4 separate regions of the Homo sapiens genome follow, and all the other regions are linked to region 1. The links are contacts of gene promoters, found by promoter capture Hi-C in blood cells and fetal thymus (Javierre and others, 2016). All regions are on one chromosome and are shown on one strand. The core of a region is centred on a gene start or on the middle of the fragment in contact, and the rest is flanking DNA. Distances in the headings are between cores, read along the strand shown. Region 1 holds the start of AKT2 (AKT serine/threonine kinase 2). Region 2 holds the start of EID2B (EP300 interacting inhibitor of differentiation 2B). Region 3 holds the start of CLC (Charcot-Leyden crystal galectin). Region 4 holds the start of PAF1 (PAF1 component of Paf1/RNA polymerase II complex).

Region 1 (2,700 bases), core at 68-2,567:
CACTCTCACAGACTGAGGTGGACCCAGGATTCAACTCTCAGTCAGGCATTTTTCTCACTTACCAATGCATACAATTGCCAAGTTATATGGCATACTGGAACCCAAATTCAGGAGGCAGCACAATCCCCTATGAGAGAGGAGGGGCTGGGAGCCAGATGTCTCACAGCTGTCCAGTATACTAGCTAATATACGGATTAGGATCTGTGCAAAGCTCTTTTCTTGCAGGGTCATTTTTTTTCTTTTTTCTTTCTTTTCTTTTTTTTTTTTTTTTTTGAGACGGAGACTTGCACTGTCGCCCGGGCCGGAGTGCAATGGCATGATCTCGGCTCACTGAAACCTCTGCCTCCCGGGTTCACGCGATTCTCCTGCCTCAAGCCTCCCAAGTAGTTGGGATTACAGGCACACACCGACATGCCCGGCTTTTTTTTTTTTTTTTGTATTTTGAGTAGAGACGGGGTTTCACTATGTTGGCCAGGCTGTCTCGAACTCCTGACCTCATGATCCGTCTGCCTTGGCCTCCCCAAGTGCTAGGATTACAGGAGTGAGCCACCGCGCCCGGCCGCAGGGTGATTTTAAGGCCTTTATGGGCCCAAGTTGCATTATAAAATGTTATATCCCAGATTCACTGGAATATGTACGATGAGAGCAGGTGGCATTAATATCTTGCAGTAATGAACTAATTGGTAAAAACCGTTTTGTTTACATTAAAATGGTTCAAAAGCCAGCGACACAGCGATGATTGTTTCCATTTAGCAGATGTGGATACTGAGGCACAGAAAACGGTCAAGCCTTCTGCCCACAGTCACCAGAAAGGAGGAAATTCAAGTCTGGGGTTGTGTGGCTTCAGAGCCTGAGCTCAACCATGACGAGCACACTGAAAAGGAAACCCCTCCTAACTAACTCCCGCTCCGGGGTCCTTTAAGAGCGTCAGAACCCAGAACTGAGTAAAACAAGATCAAAGCGTATGTAAATACGGACTAGGGGCTGCCGGGAAATAATCACTACGGCTAGGCCCTAGGGAAAGCAGACGTCGGAGTCCTAGTGCGCCTGCGTAGCCCCATCTCGCCTTTCCGCCCCACGGCCTAGCGAGGCCCATCTCTAACCCACACAGGCCCAAAGTTGTCTAATGTGCGCAGGCGCCCTGCTGTGAGCCCGCCTCCTTCTCTGCCCTGCTCTTGCGCTCTCGCTCTCTCAGAGTTCGTCTCTGGCTCTTTGTACGTCACTTCCTGTTTGTGGCGCGAGAGGGCGGTATTTCCGTCCAGAGGGTGGGAGGGGGCGGTAAGCGGGGGCTGGGGGGAGGGGGCGGGGGGGGCCGCGCCGTGCTAGCCGTTGGGCCTGCCTCGGAGGAGGCGTCGCCGCCGCCGCTGCCGCTGCCGGCGCCGTTGCCGCTGCCGGGAAACACAAGGAAAGGGAACCAGCGCAGCGTGGCGATGGGCGGGGGTAGAGCCCCGCCGGAGAGGCTGGGCGGCTGCCGGTGACAGGTGAGTGCGCCAGCGCGTGTCCCCGAACGCCCCCCCCACGATGGTCGCGTCCGGGCCCCCCGCGGTGCCGCGATGGGCTGTACCACCCGTGCCCGGCGGGGGGACCGCGGCCCTCGAGCCCCTCCTTCAGGAGCTGAGTGGGGGTGGCCGAGCGGGGGCGGTGGGACCAGCCTCGGGGGGCCGGGGCGGTGGCGGCGGGCCATACCACTGAGGCGGTGGGGGGAGCGCTGCAAGTTTGCGGGACGGGGAGCGCAGGCCGCAGCGTGCGCGGGCCGGGGGCTGGACCTTTCGGGCGCGGCGGGCAGATCGAGCCTGGCGTGCGCGGGCTAAGCTATCGAGGGGGCGCGCCGCATCAAGTGTAGAGGGCTGTACCTTTTTGGCGCTGTGGAAGCCGTTGCTGTGCTGTATTTACAGGGGTGGGGGCTTCTGGGGAGGATGCTTCCCCAACTGTGGCTGGGTTATATCACCACGGCGTTGGGGGAGCCCTGCTTAGAACGTAGGGGAACCCAAATCAGAGGACTGTGATGTTTGTGATCTTTAAGGGACTGGGACGGGGCGGGACAGGCCCTAGTGGGTTTTAGGGGCGTATTTTGGGAGGACTGTGATGCCGATTGGTGAGGAGGGGTTTCTGTTTCCTGTATTTGACGTGTGTGGCGTTGGGGGTTTACACTGATCTCAGCCTTTATTGAACTTCTTAACGACTCTGGAGGGAACGTCATGGTTACTGGGGTGCTTTGGACCATGGAGGTGCTGCTCTGGATTCCATTACCCTCTCAGATTATTTACCAGGCAGTAACAGTTCTTTCCTTCCATAGGGGAGGGAGGAAAGCTGTGTTAGAAGTCACTGAAGTTGTCTGAGCCTTAACATTCTGAAGAGGAAGAGGGATTGGGCTTGGATTTGAGGAGCCGTGCCCCTGCACCCGCTTGTTAAAACTTGGGAGGAAGGAGTGTTTGGGGGAACACCTCTTCCCCCCAGGGAAGCTCTCTGGGGGCATCTTGATCTTGGGATTGTGAGGACCTCTTCCTCTCATTTGGAGACCTCTTGGGGCTCAGCAAGACGCCTGGGCTGGAGTAACTAGAGCCTCCAATGGGCTGCTTTTCAACTTCATCCACTCCTACCTTCCCAGAGAAGCAGCAGGAGTTCACTCGTGGGCTGAACTTGGTTGGCAGTGGATGTGAAGGGTCCAGGAACCAACGCAGACCACTACATGCTCCTCTG
Region 2 (2,818 bases), core at 119-2,618, 750 kb after region 1:
GCCAGCAACTCTCATATTTGGATTCCAGCTAAATTCAAAGGATTTTTTTTCGAGACAGGGTCTTGCTCTGTCATACAGGGCTGGAGTGCAGTGGTGCAATCATAGCTCACTGCACAGTCCACCTACCAAGCTCAAGTCATCCTCCCACCTCAGCCTCCTGAATAGCTGAGACTACAGGTGCACATGCCACCATGCCTGCCTAATTTTTTTTTTCTGTAGGGACAGGGGTCTCACTATGTTGCCCAGGCTGGTCTCAAACTCATGGGCTCAAGCGATCCTCCCACCTTTGCCTCCCAACTTGCTGGGATTACAGGCATGAGCCACTACACCCAGCCACAGCTGACTGATTTTAAATGGAACATAGACTTTCACGTTTTGGGTTATCATCAGGATCAGAGCTAGCCACACAGAAAGGCTAACCATATCATTAGAGAGTTGGGGCTTGGAGCCATGTGATATCAGGTAGGAGGCTGGAGATTGACTTCAACAAAATGGACGATGGTTTAATCAAGCATGCCTAGGTAGTAAAACCCCAGTAAAAACTCTGGACACCAAAGCCTGGGTGAGAGTCCTATGTTAGCACTACCCCCACACTTATTGCCACACATGGACGACAAAGGGTAACACATCCCTAGGAACACAGGAACTTCACATTTGGAACCCTCCCCATCCCAGATTGTGCCTTATACATCTCTTCTAATCTGTGTCCTTTGCCTGTAATAAGCATGACTGTGAATATAACAGATTTCAATGAGCTCTGGGAATTATCAAACCTAAAGGTGGTTTTGGGAAACCCCCAAACTTCCAGTGTCAAAATATTACTTACAGGCCAGGCCGAGTGGCTCAGGCCGGTAATCCCAGCACTTTGGGAGGCCAAGGCAGGATGATCACTTGAGTCCAGGAGTTCGAGACCAGCCTGGGCAACATAGTGAGACCCAATTTCTACAAAAAATAAAAAATCAGCTGGGTGTGGTTGTGTGCACCTGTAGTTCCAGTTACTCCAGAGGCTGAGGCAGGAGGATGGCTTGAGGCTGGGAGGTCAAAGCAGCAGTAACCGAGATCGCACCACTGCACTCCAGCCTAGGCGACAGGGCGAGACCCAGTCTGAAAAAAAAAAAAAAAAGACAGGAGCTGGAAAATGACCGTATAAGGAACTTTACATTAATACTGAAGTGGTTGTAATTTAAGATACCGCGCAGTCCGCAGGTCCTCAGGCGCTCAGAGGACCAGAGGCGGCTACAGACGTAATGGCTACTCAGGACCGCTAGGGAACGCTAGAGGATTGGCCACCGTGCTTACGCATGCGCACACTCTGGCACGCACAGCGTTTACGCGCTCACTGAGACTCGCGCATGCGCAGGTCTCGCATACAGCAGTGCAGTGCCGTTATTCCAGTCTCCGTAGAAACGCTGGGACTATGGCGGAGCCGACTGGGCTGTTGGAGATGTCCGAGCTCCCCGGAGATAGCAGTGTCCCACAGGTGGGCACCGCGAGTGGCGTCAGCGACGTACTGCGGGGGGCAGTCGGCGGCGGGGTTCGGGTGCAGGAGGCTCGGGAAGGCCCAGTGGCCGAAGCTGCGCGGTCCATGGCGCGGATGCCGGGCCCTGTGCCCGGGCCCATCCCCAGCAGCGTCCCGGGCCTGGCCTCCGCGCCAGACCCCCATCAGCAGCTCGCTTTCTTAGAAATTAACCGGCAGCTGTTGTTCCGCGAGTATCTGGATGGTAGCTCCATGATTCCGGTCAGATTACTACGGGATTTCGAGGAACGCCGCAGGCTGTTTGTGGAAGGCTGCAAGGCGAGGGAAGCAGCCTTTGACGCGGATCCCCCGCAGATGGACTTCGCTGCTGTCGCGTTTACGGTAGCGCTGACTGCCTCCGAGGCCCTCAGTCCTCTGGCCGACTGAGTCGGCTGTGATGATGACATTGGTGGCAAGGAATAGCCAAGTGACCCTTTTGGGATCAAAAGAACAGGCAGGCTGTGCCAGTTTAGTTAACTCAGTCATTAGGGGGAATGCAAACTGGAAGGGAATACGGCAATGTGCAATTGAAGGAGGAAGCACACTCCGAAATGGAAACAGACAAGACTGTTGAATCTTGTTTTCTTTCTTCTTTTTTAGTATTATTTAAATAGAGAAGGGAGTCTCGCATCCCTAGGCTGGTCCCGAACGCTTGGACCCGAGCGATCCTCCCGCTTCGGCCTCCCAAAGTGCTGGGATTACTTTACAGGCGTGAGCCACCGCGCCCGGCCGAATCTTGTTTTCAAACAGGTCCCAAGACACTTCTGACTTAGCACTTTGTTAGCAATGCATTTTCCTGCATTTGTGAAGAATCCTTCATGACTTTCACCATAAAGGATGGTTTTGCAAAGATATGAGAAAAAAAAAATGCCAATAACAGAACCCATAGAAATGAACCTAAGTGATGAAAGAAAACAAAGAAATAGAGTTGTCAGGAATCCAGGTGTACCTGAGTTACTAGGATTGGAAGGCTATTGAGAGGACTTTGAAATTTCACAATTTGTGGTCATGTCAACAAATCCTAGTGTAAGATTCATATTTGTGTTTTCTGAGGTACTTTAGATGAACAGTAAATATTCAATAGAAAAAACCACGTATTATATGATCAGTGTTTTCAAGTCTATGTGAAATTGGGTAGGTGTGGAATAAACTTGTTTTTTGTTAATTTTAAGCTTTTTATTTTATTCTAGAATATGTATTCTATTCACAAGACTCAACAAAAAAAAGTATCGGCCGGGCGCACTGGCTTACGCCTGTAATCCCAGCACTTTGGGAGGCCACGGCGGGTGGATCACCTGAGGT
Region 3 (2,700 bases), core at 104-2,603, 550 kb after region 1:
ACACAAAACCTAAAGTTTTTCGGGGGAACAGTGTGTGCTTGGAAAGATGTAGTTGAAAAGAAAGACTGAAAGCAAGTCGTAGGGCATAATGGATTTCTGAAGAAATAGTTGCAACCAGCAGAAGTATGGGCTATTGTGCAGAGGATATGGAAGTTAAAGAAGATCAATCTCTCTGCATCACTGAAAGGATTGCTGGAATGCCTGAGAAGTAAATAACATCAACATCTTTATCCACAGCTTACTAGGTGGCCAGACGCCCTGAACTGATATTTCTTCCCCAGTTCAGATGAATAGCTGGGATATTACTCAAAATTCTATTGCATATCTGTTGCAAGGAAAAGCAGTTCCTCTTTCCCTTCTGTGGTAATTTCTTACAAGCTACAGTTCTGGGCAGGGTGTGAGGGTGGTTGCCTAGAACGGGGTTTCCAAAGCTCCTTAATTGTGGCCTCTGACCCTTTTCATTGCTTCCATGTCCATACCCAGAGTCAAAACCCAAGGAATGCAGTGGGATGACATTACAAATTAATCTTAAGGAAATACGTTATATACCAAAAGAACTGTGTGATTGTGCTGATTTATATGAGCAGAATCTTGGAGTGCATGCTTGGAAATGAATTGTCAAGGTTTTAGATCAGGGAAAGTGGAATTTATTGTCGGGTCAAGCACAACTAATATTAATGCTAATGCATCCTCATCGCTTAGCTCCCACTTATGAGTGAGAAATCTCACCTTTCTCCAAGAATCTGCAGGAGAACGACAGCCTCAGATTTTGATTCACATGAAAAGAAATAGGGAAATAAGAGGGCGTACCTAAAGCCCAGGTGTCTGAGAGACAGAGTGGGAGTGGCTCTCACCTGGCAGAGCCAAGGGATCTGAGGGTGGGTAAAGAAGACACAAGTGTTTTCTCTACTTCTGTCCCCAGGTCCTGCGAATGATCAAGATCTATGCTCTCCCAGAACCACTGGAGAAGGAGGAGGAGGATTTTCTTTCAAAGCCAAGTGCCTTGCCCCCAGGATCTCCAGCTTTTTACCATTGCACAGGTTAGGAGAACGCACACCTTCCTGGTAGATTCTGCACAGTGGAGAAAAGGCTTCATGAGAAGCATGGAGGCTGGAACTCACACCACTCATCCTCACTCCATCGTCTTTATCTGTGCATTTCCCTGGTGACCCCTTCCTCCTCCAGTACCTCCCTCACTGTCGTTTCTGCTGCATCACAGGCACAGGCCTCCAAACAGGTGTGGTTGTGACTGAGTCTGTTTCTGACACCCCACCCCTTCTCACTGTGTGAGGAAACCTTCCTGGGAGGGGCTTGGAATCAGGAATAAAGCCAGAGGCAGGGCTGATAGGGGCCATTTAAATTCTGCAGCTCAGAGATTCACACAGAAGTCTGGACACAATTCAGAAGAGCCACCCAGAAGGAGACAACAATGTCCCTGCTACCCGTGAGTTAAAAAGGCACAGCCTTCAATAATCTCAGGTCACACAGAAAAGGGAAGAGGGAGATTTTATGGGATGAAAATATGAAAATTTCTACTGTGAATGCTTTACTGAGAGTTGTGGGTGTGTGGAAGAGAGACCCTAGGGCTATGGTATCTGAGATGCTCCTGGGGTAGGGGGGTAGGGGGTGTGGATGCTGGAACATTGTGACCCTCTGTGAGCATGTGATGGTATCTGATGAGAGTAAACTCTGCTAAAAATGATGTGACTTTAGACGGGATGTGTATGGCCCTCCAGGATATGGGTGGGTGTGTAAGTGATTGTAATCAGGTGACTGTGTTTTGTCTTCATGACTGTGATGTGAGTGTGTGTGTGAGCACAGCCGGACCAGTGCATGAGCATCTTTATATGCACAGTGAGCAGGTGTGTGTGACTCAGTGAGTGGCACGGCTCTGTGTGACTGTGAGTGTGTGTGCTGGAATGTGACTGGGTGTTGAACTGGGAACATGCATGTGGCCTTCTGTGCATGTGAAGGTTCCTCCCCACATAGCAGTACTCTGTCTAACTTCCCTTGTGCATCACTGTGGATCCCCGGTGACAGAACTTGTGGGATCTTGGGGCCCTTGAGTTACCGAGGACTTATCTCTGAGCATTTATGAGAGCAGAATGCATGAATTCTCAGGTGCCTTTTCCCAAGCAGAATGGGGGTGAGAAACAGACGATGGGGCTGATGGTTCCTTAGGTGGAATCTGCACACAGTGACCACTGGCTCCTGCCTCCAGCCTCAGGTCTCTCCCTGTCTCCTACCCTAGCCTGGCCTTCCCATTGAGTGCCAGGATGCTAGAGAAGGACATTGAGGGACTTGATTTAAGAGACTGAATCACCCAAAACCAGGAAGGTACAAGGCAGAGCTTACAGTGGATATTCATCAAGATGTTTGCTGAGGCCTGTAGTCTCAGCACTTTGGGTGGCCGAATTGAAAGGCCCATGTCAGGCCAGGACTGGTAGACCAGCCTGGGAGACATAGCAAGATTTCATCTTTCCAAAAATTTAAAAATTTATTGAATGTGGTGTTGCATACCGTAGTTCCAGCTGCTGGGGGGCATATGCAAGAGGTTCACTGAAGCCCAGGCCTTCAAACCTGCAGTAATTTTTTTTTTTTTTTTTTGAGACAGAGTCTCGCTCTGTTTCCCAGGCTGGAGTGCAGTGGTGCAATCTCGGCTCACTGCAACCTCCACCTCCCGGGTTCAAGCGATTCTCA
Region 4 (2,805 bases), core at 251-2,750, 890 kb after region 1:
TGGGCGGGGAGCAGGAGAAGGAAAGATGAATTTCAAAGACTGGGAAGGCAATAGAATATCCTGGTAAAGGGGGCTGCACTCACTGTCCATTGTCGATGTTAGTGTTCTGAATCAAGTTTTGGGCCGCAACCTTCATCAAGGTCTAGTCAAAACAAAAACAAAACACGTGGGAAATGGAAAAACAAAAGGGAATACCTCTGGCAGATCTACACTCTTTCTTGAGATCACTCAGTCTCAGGTTTTCTTTTCAACTGGCACCTTCCCTCCTGACTTTCCAAAGTAATATTCGTTTCCATTCCTATAGCTGTCACCACTCCATCCTCCCAGAGGCCCGCTCTCACCTGAGCTTCTCGCCAATAACCTAAGGGTCCTCCCTCACCTATCAATCAAGGGCAGAATCTCCGTATAAGCCAGTACTCTCCTCAGGCTTTAACGACCAGAGCCCAGTTTCTCCTTTAAACAACCCCTCACTCAAGCTCCGGCCAGTCCCAGCCTCAGCATCAGCGCTGATCCCATCTCTGCCGAGCTTCGCTTAGGTCTCGCAGAAAACAACAGTTTTATTTATTTATTTATTTATTTTTTTGACGGAGTCTCGCTCTGTTGCCCAGGCTGGAGTGCAATGGCACGATGTCGGCTCACTGCAACCTCCGCCTCCTGGGTTCAAGCGATTCTCCTGCCTCAGCTTCCCGAGTAGCTGTAATTACAGGCGCGCGCCACCATGCCCGGCTAATTTTTGTATTTTTAGTAGAGACGAGGTTTCACCAGGCTGGTCTTGAACTCCTGACCTCAAGTGATCCGCCCGCCTCGGCCTCCCAAAGTGCTGGGAACACAGGCGTGCACCAGCCAGGCCAAAACAGCAGGTTCTATTCCTCTTTCTGCTTAGCGCTCTCTCCGACTAACCTGGCCCTCGGCCTGCCCCTCTAGACTACCAAATCCAGTTTGCTTCTCGCTGCTTAAGGCCAATCACCTGTAGACTCTCCTTCAGCTGCGGGATGAGCATCTTATAACGCTGCACAGGATCGAAGTCCTGTTGCTGTTGCTGCAGGAGGCCGCTCTGGGCAGGGCCCACCAGTTGTGCTGGCGGTTGCGGCTGCTGCTGGGGACCCGGGCCGCCAGCCGAACTAGGACCCGATACACCAGCAGCTGAGGAAGCCGCTGAAGCTTGCTGCTGGGATGCAGCCATCTTCCTCGCGTAGACCGCCGGAAGTGCGTTACGACTGCGTCTCTCCCCGTTGCTTTTCAGCATCCCTATTTCTAGTCCCCGTTTGCTAGTTAGTCCCGCCCCCTAGGCAATTAAGCCAATGGAGGGGAAGGAGGTGCCCCAACGTTACGTCACTCTCAAATCTGCGTCCAGACTGAGATATCTCTCCACCAATCACAGAAGCACCTCTCTCCCTCGCTCCGCCCTTCACCCAGACGCTCGCCAATCCGTGTGTGGTTCCGAGCCGGACTTCATTTCCCCGAAGGCGTCGCGGCCTGAGGAGACCCGTTGGGTCCTCAGCGTCTTGGCGGCAGTTGGTGGAACCGGAGCTTCGAGTCCGTCCCCGGTGCTGCCTGCGCGTTCACCTGAGTCTCGCTGGAGCTCTTCTCGCCCGCCCACCTCATCTCAACCCACTTTCCGCGGGGAGCGGCGCCAAGCTGGGCCTTCCTCGGATCAGGCGTCCCCTGAAGTCGGCACGCCCCTCTGCGTCCCCCTTCGGTCCCGCTAGGACCCCGTCCGGGCTGCCGTCGCCTCGTCGCTATGGCGCCCACCATCCAGACCCAGGCCCAGCGGGAGGATGGCCACAGGTAGGCGCCACGCTTTTCTGTTGCAGCAAGGCGGGGGATCGGGAGAGGGTTTCTGCTGAACAACGTCACCAGCCCCCAGGTCTGCCCGTGACGTCATGAAGCGCTCACCTTTGACGAAGGGGGCGGGTTCCTTCTGAGATTCAGGTGTTCCCCTCCTCCCCGCCGTGCAGTTCAGGGATTAGGCTTTTGGAGACTCCCTCCAGAAGGGATCCCTCCAGTCAACCGTTTGGAGACCCCTCTTCCGAAGACGATTGAGTACATGGTTCTTTATTAAAGCACTTGAAGCCATCTCCTGCAAAAGGGATTGAGCACTTGGCCTTGTTCATTAAAGCTTTTGGGGGCATTTCTTCCTAAATAAATTGAACATTTGTCTCCTTCCATTAAAGCATTTGGACACTCCCCACACCACCACCCAAAGAAACCAGCATTTGTCACCCCTCCTACCTTTTGAAAGGTTGGGGAAGCCTTTTTCATTCTCCTGTCAATCCCGTCCTCTCCACCTATCACTGTTTCTTTCTTCTCCACTAGGCCCAATTCCCACCGGACTCTGCCTGAGAGGTGAGCCCCACTGTGCTTTCCCAGGAGCGGTGGGGCAGTGGGGCTGGGAGCAGAGGTGGGGCAGCGGGGGCCCACTTTTGAGCCACTAATGTTCCTAGGTCTGGAGTGGTCTGCCGAGTCAAGTACTGCAATAGCCTCCCTGATATCCCCTTCGACCCCAAGTTCATCACCTACCCCTTCGACCAGAACAGGTGAGACTAAGGAATGGGAAAACTACTCAGGTATGAGTTCCTTGAAGGCAGGGACTGCTTGTCTCGTTGGCTGCTGTCTGCTCAGGGCCTAGCACAGTACCTACCCTAGCACATAGTAGTAGCTGCTCAATTGTTAATGGAGCAAGCAGTGTCCAAGTCCCTTCCCACTGGGGAGCCAGCTTTCAGACTCTGCCATGGGGGACACTTCATTCTGAGTTCCTCCCCAGAGAAGCTCCGCCTCTGGGAAGCAGGGCTGTGAGGGGTGAAG

The links. Contacts are between HindIII fragments. The CHiCAGO score rates a contact against its expected background, and 5 or more counts as called.
Region 2: a contact is called between the fragment with the promoter of EID2B here and the fragment with the promoter of AKT2 in region 1, in 3 of 17 cell types (neutrophils, M1 macrophages and erythroblasts). The highest score is 7.9, in neutrophils.
Region 3: a contact is called between the fragment with the promoter of CLC here and the fragment with the promoter of AKT2 in region 1, in 3 of 17 cell types (naive CD8 T cells, fetal thymus and total B cells). The highest score is 5.3, in naive CD8 T cells.
Region 4: a contact is called between the fragment with the promoter of PAF1 here and the fragment with the promoter of AKT2 in region 1, in 1 of 17 cell types (activated CD4 T cells). The highest score is 6.5, in activated CD4 T cells.

Annotation. Positions count from the first base shown.
Region 1 is chr19:40,283,962-40,286,661 of GRCh38, reverse strand. It overlaps AKT2 (AKT serine/threonine kinase 2), which reads left to right and starts at 1,317. Exons shown (of 14, transcript NM_001626.6): 1 at 1,317-1,481. RefSeq lists enhancers at 165-996, 2,153-2,292 and a silencer at 1,283-1,782. The HindIII fragment of the contact is 30,037 bases long and covers 1-2,700 here.
Region 2 is chr19:39,531,402-39,534,219 of GRCh38, reverse strand. It overlaps EID2B (EP300 interacting inhibitor of differentiation 2B), which reads left to right and starts at 1,368. Exons shown (of 1, transcript NM_152361.3): 1 at 1,368-2,818. The coding sequence starts at 1,418. The coding sequence ends at 1,903. The HindIII fragment of the contact is 7,702 bases long and covers 1-2,690 here.
Region 3 is chr19:39,736,682-39,739,381 of GRCh38, reverse strand. CLC (Charcot-Leyden crystal galectin) reads left to right here and starts at 1,353. Exons shown (of 4, transcript NM_001828.6): 1 at 1,353-1,444. The coding sequence starts at 1,430. The HindIII fragment of the contact is 8,050 bases long and covers 1-2,700 here.
Region 4 is chr19:39,389,801-39,392,605 of GRCh38, reverse strand. It overlaps PAF1 (PAF1 component of Paf1/RNA polymerase II complex), which reads left to right and starts at 1,500. Exons shown (of 14, transcript NM_019088.4): 1 at 1,500-1,788; 2 at 2,317-2,346; 3 at 2,445-2,537. The coding sequence starts at 1,742. It overlaps MED29 (mediator complex subunit 29), which reads right to left and starts at 1,228. Exons shown (of 4, transcript NM_017592.4): 1 at 968-1,228; 2 at 84-142. The coding sequence starts at 1,183. It also overlaps a transcript of SAMD4B not described here. RefSeq lists an enhancer at 884-1,173 and a silencer at 2,711-2,805. The HindIII fragment of the contact is 958 bases long and covers 1,164-2,121 here.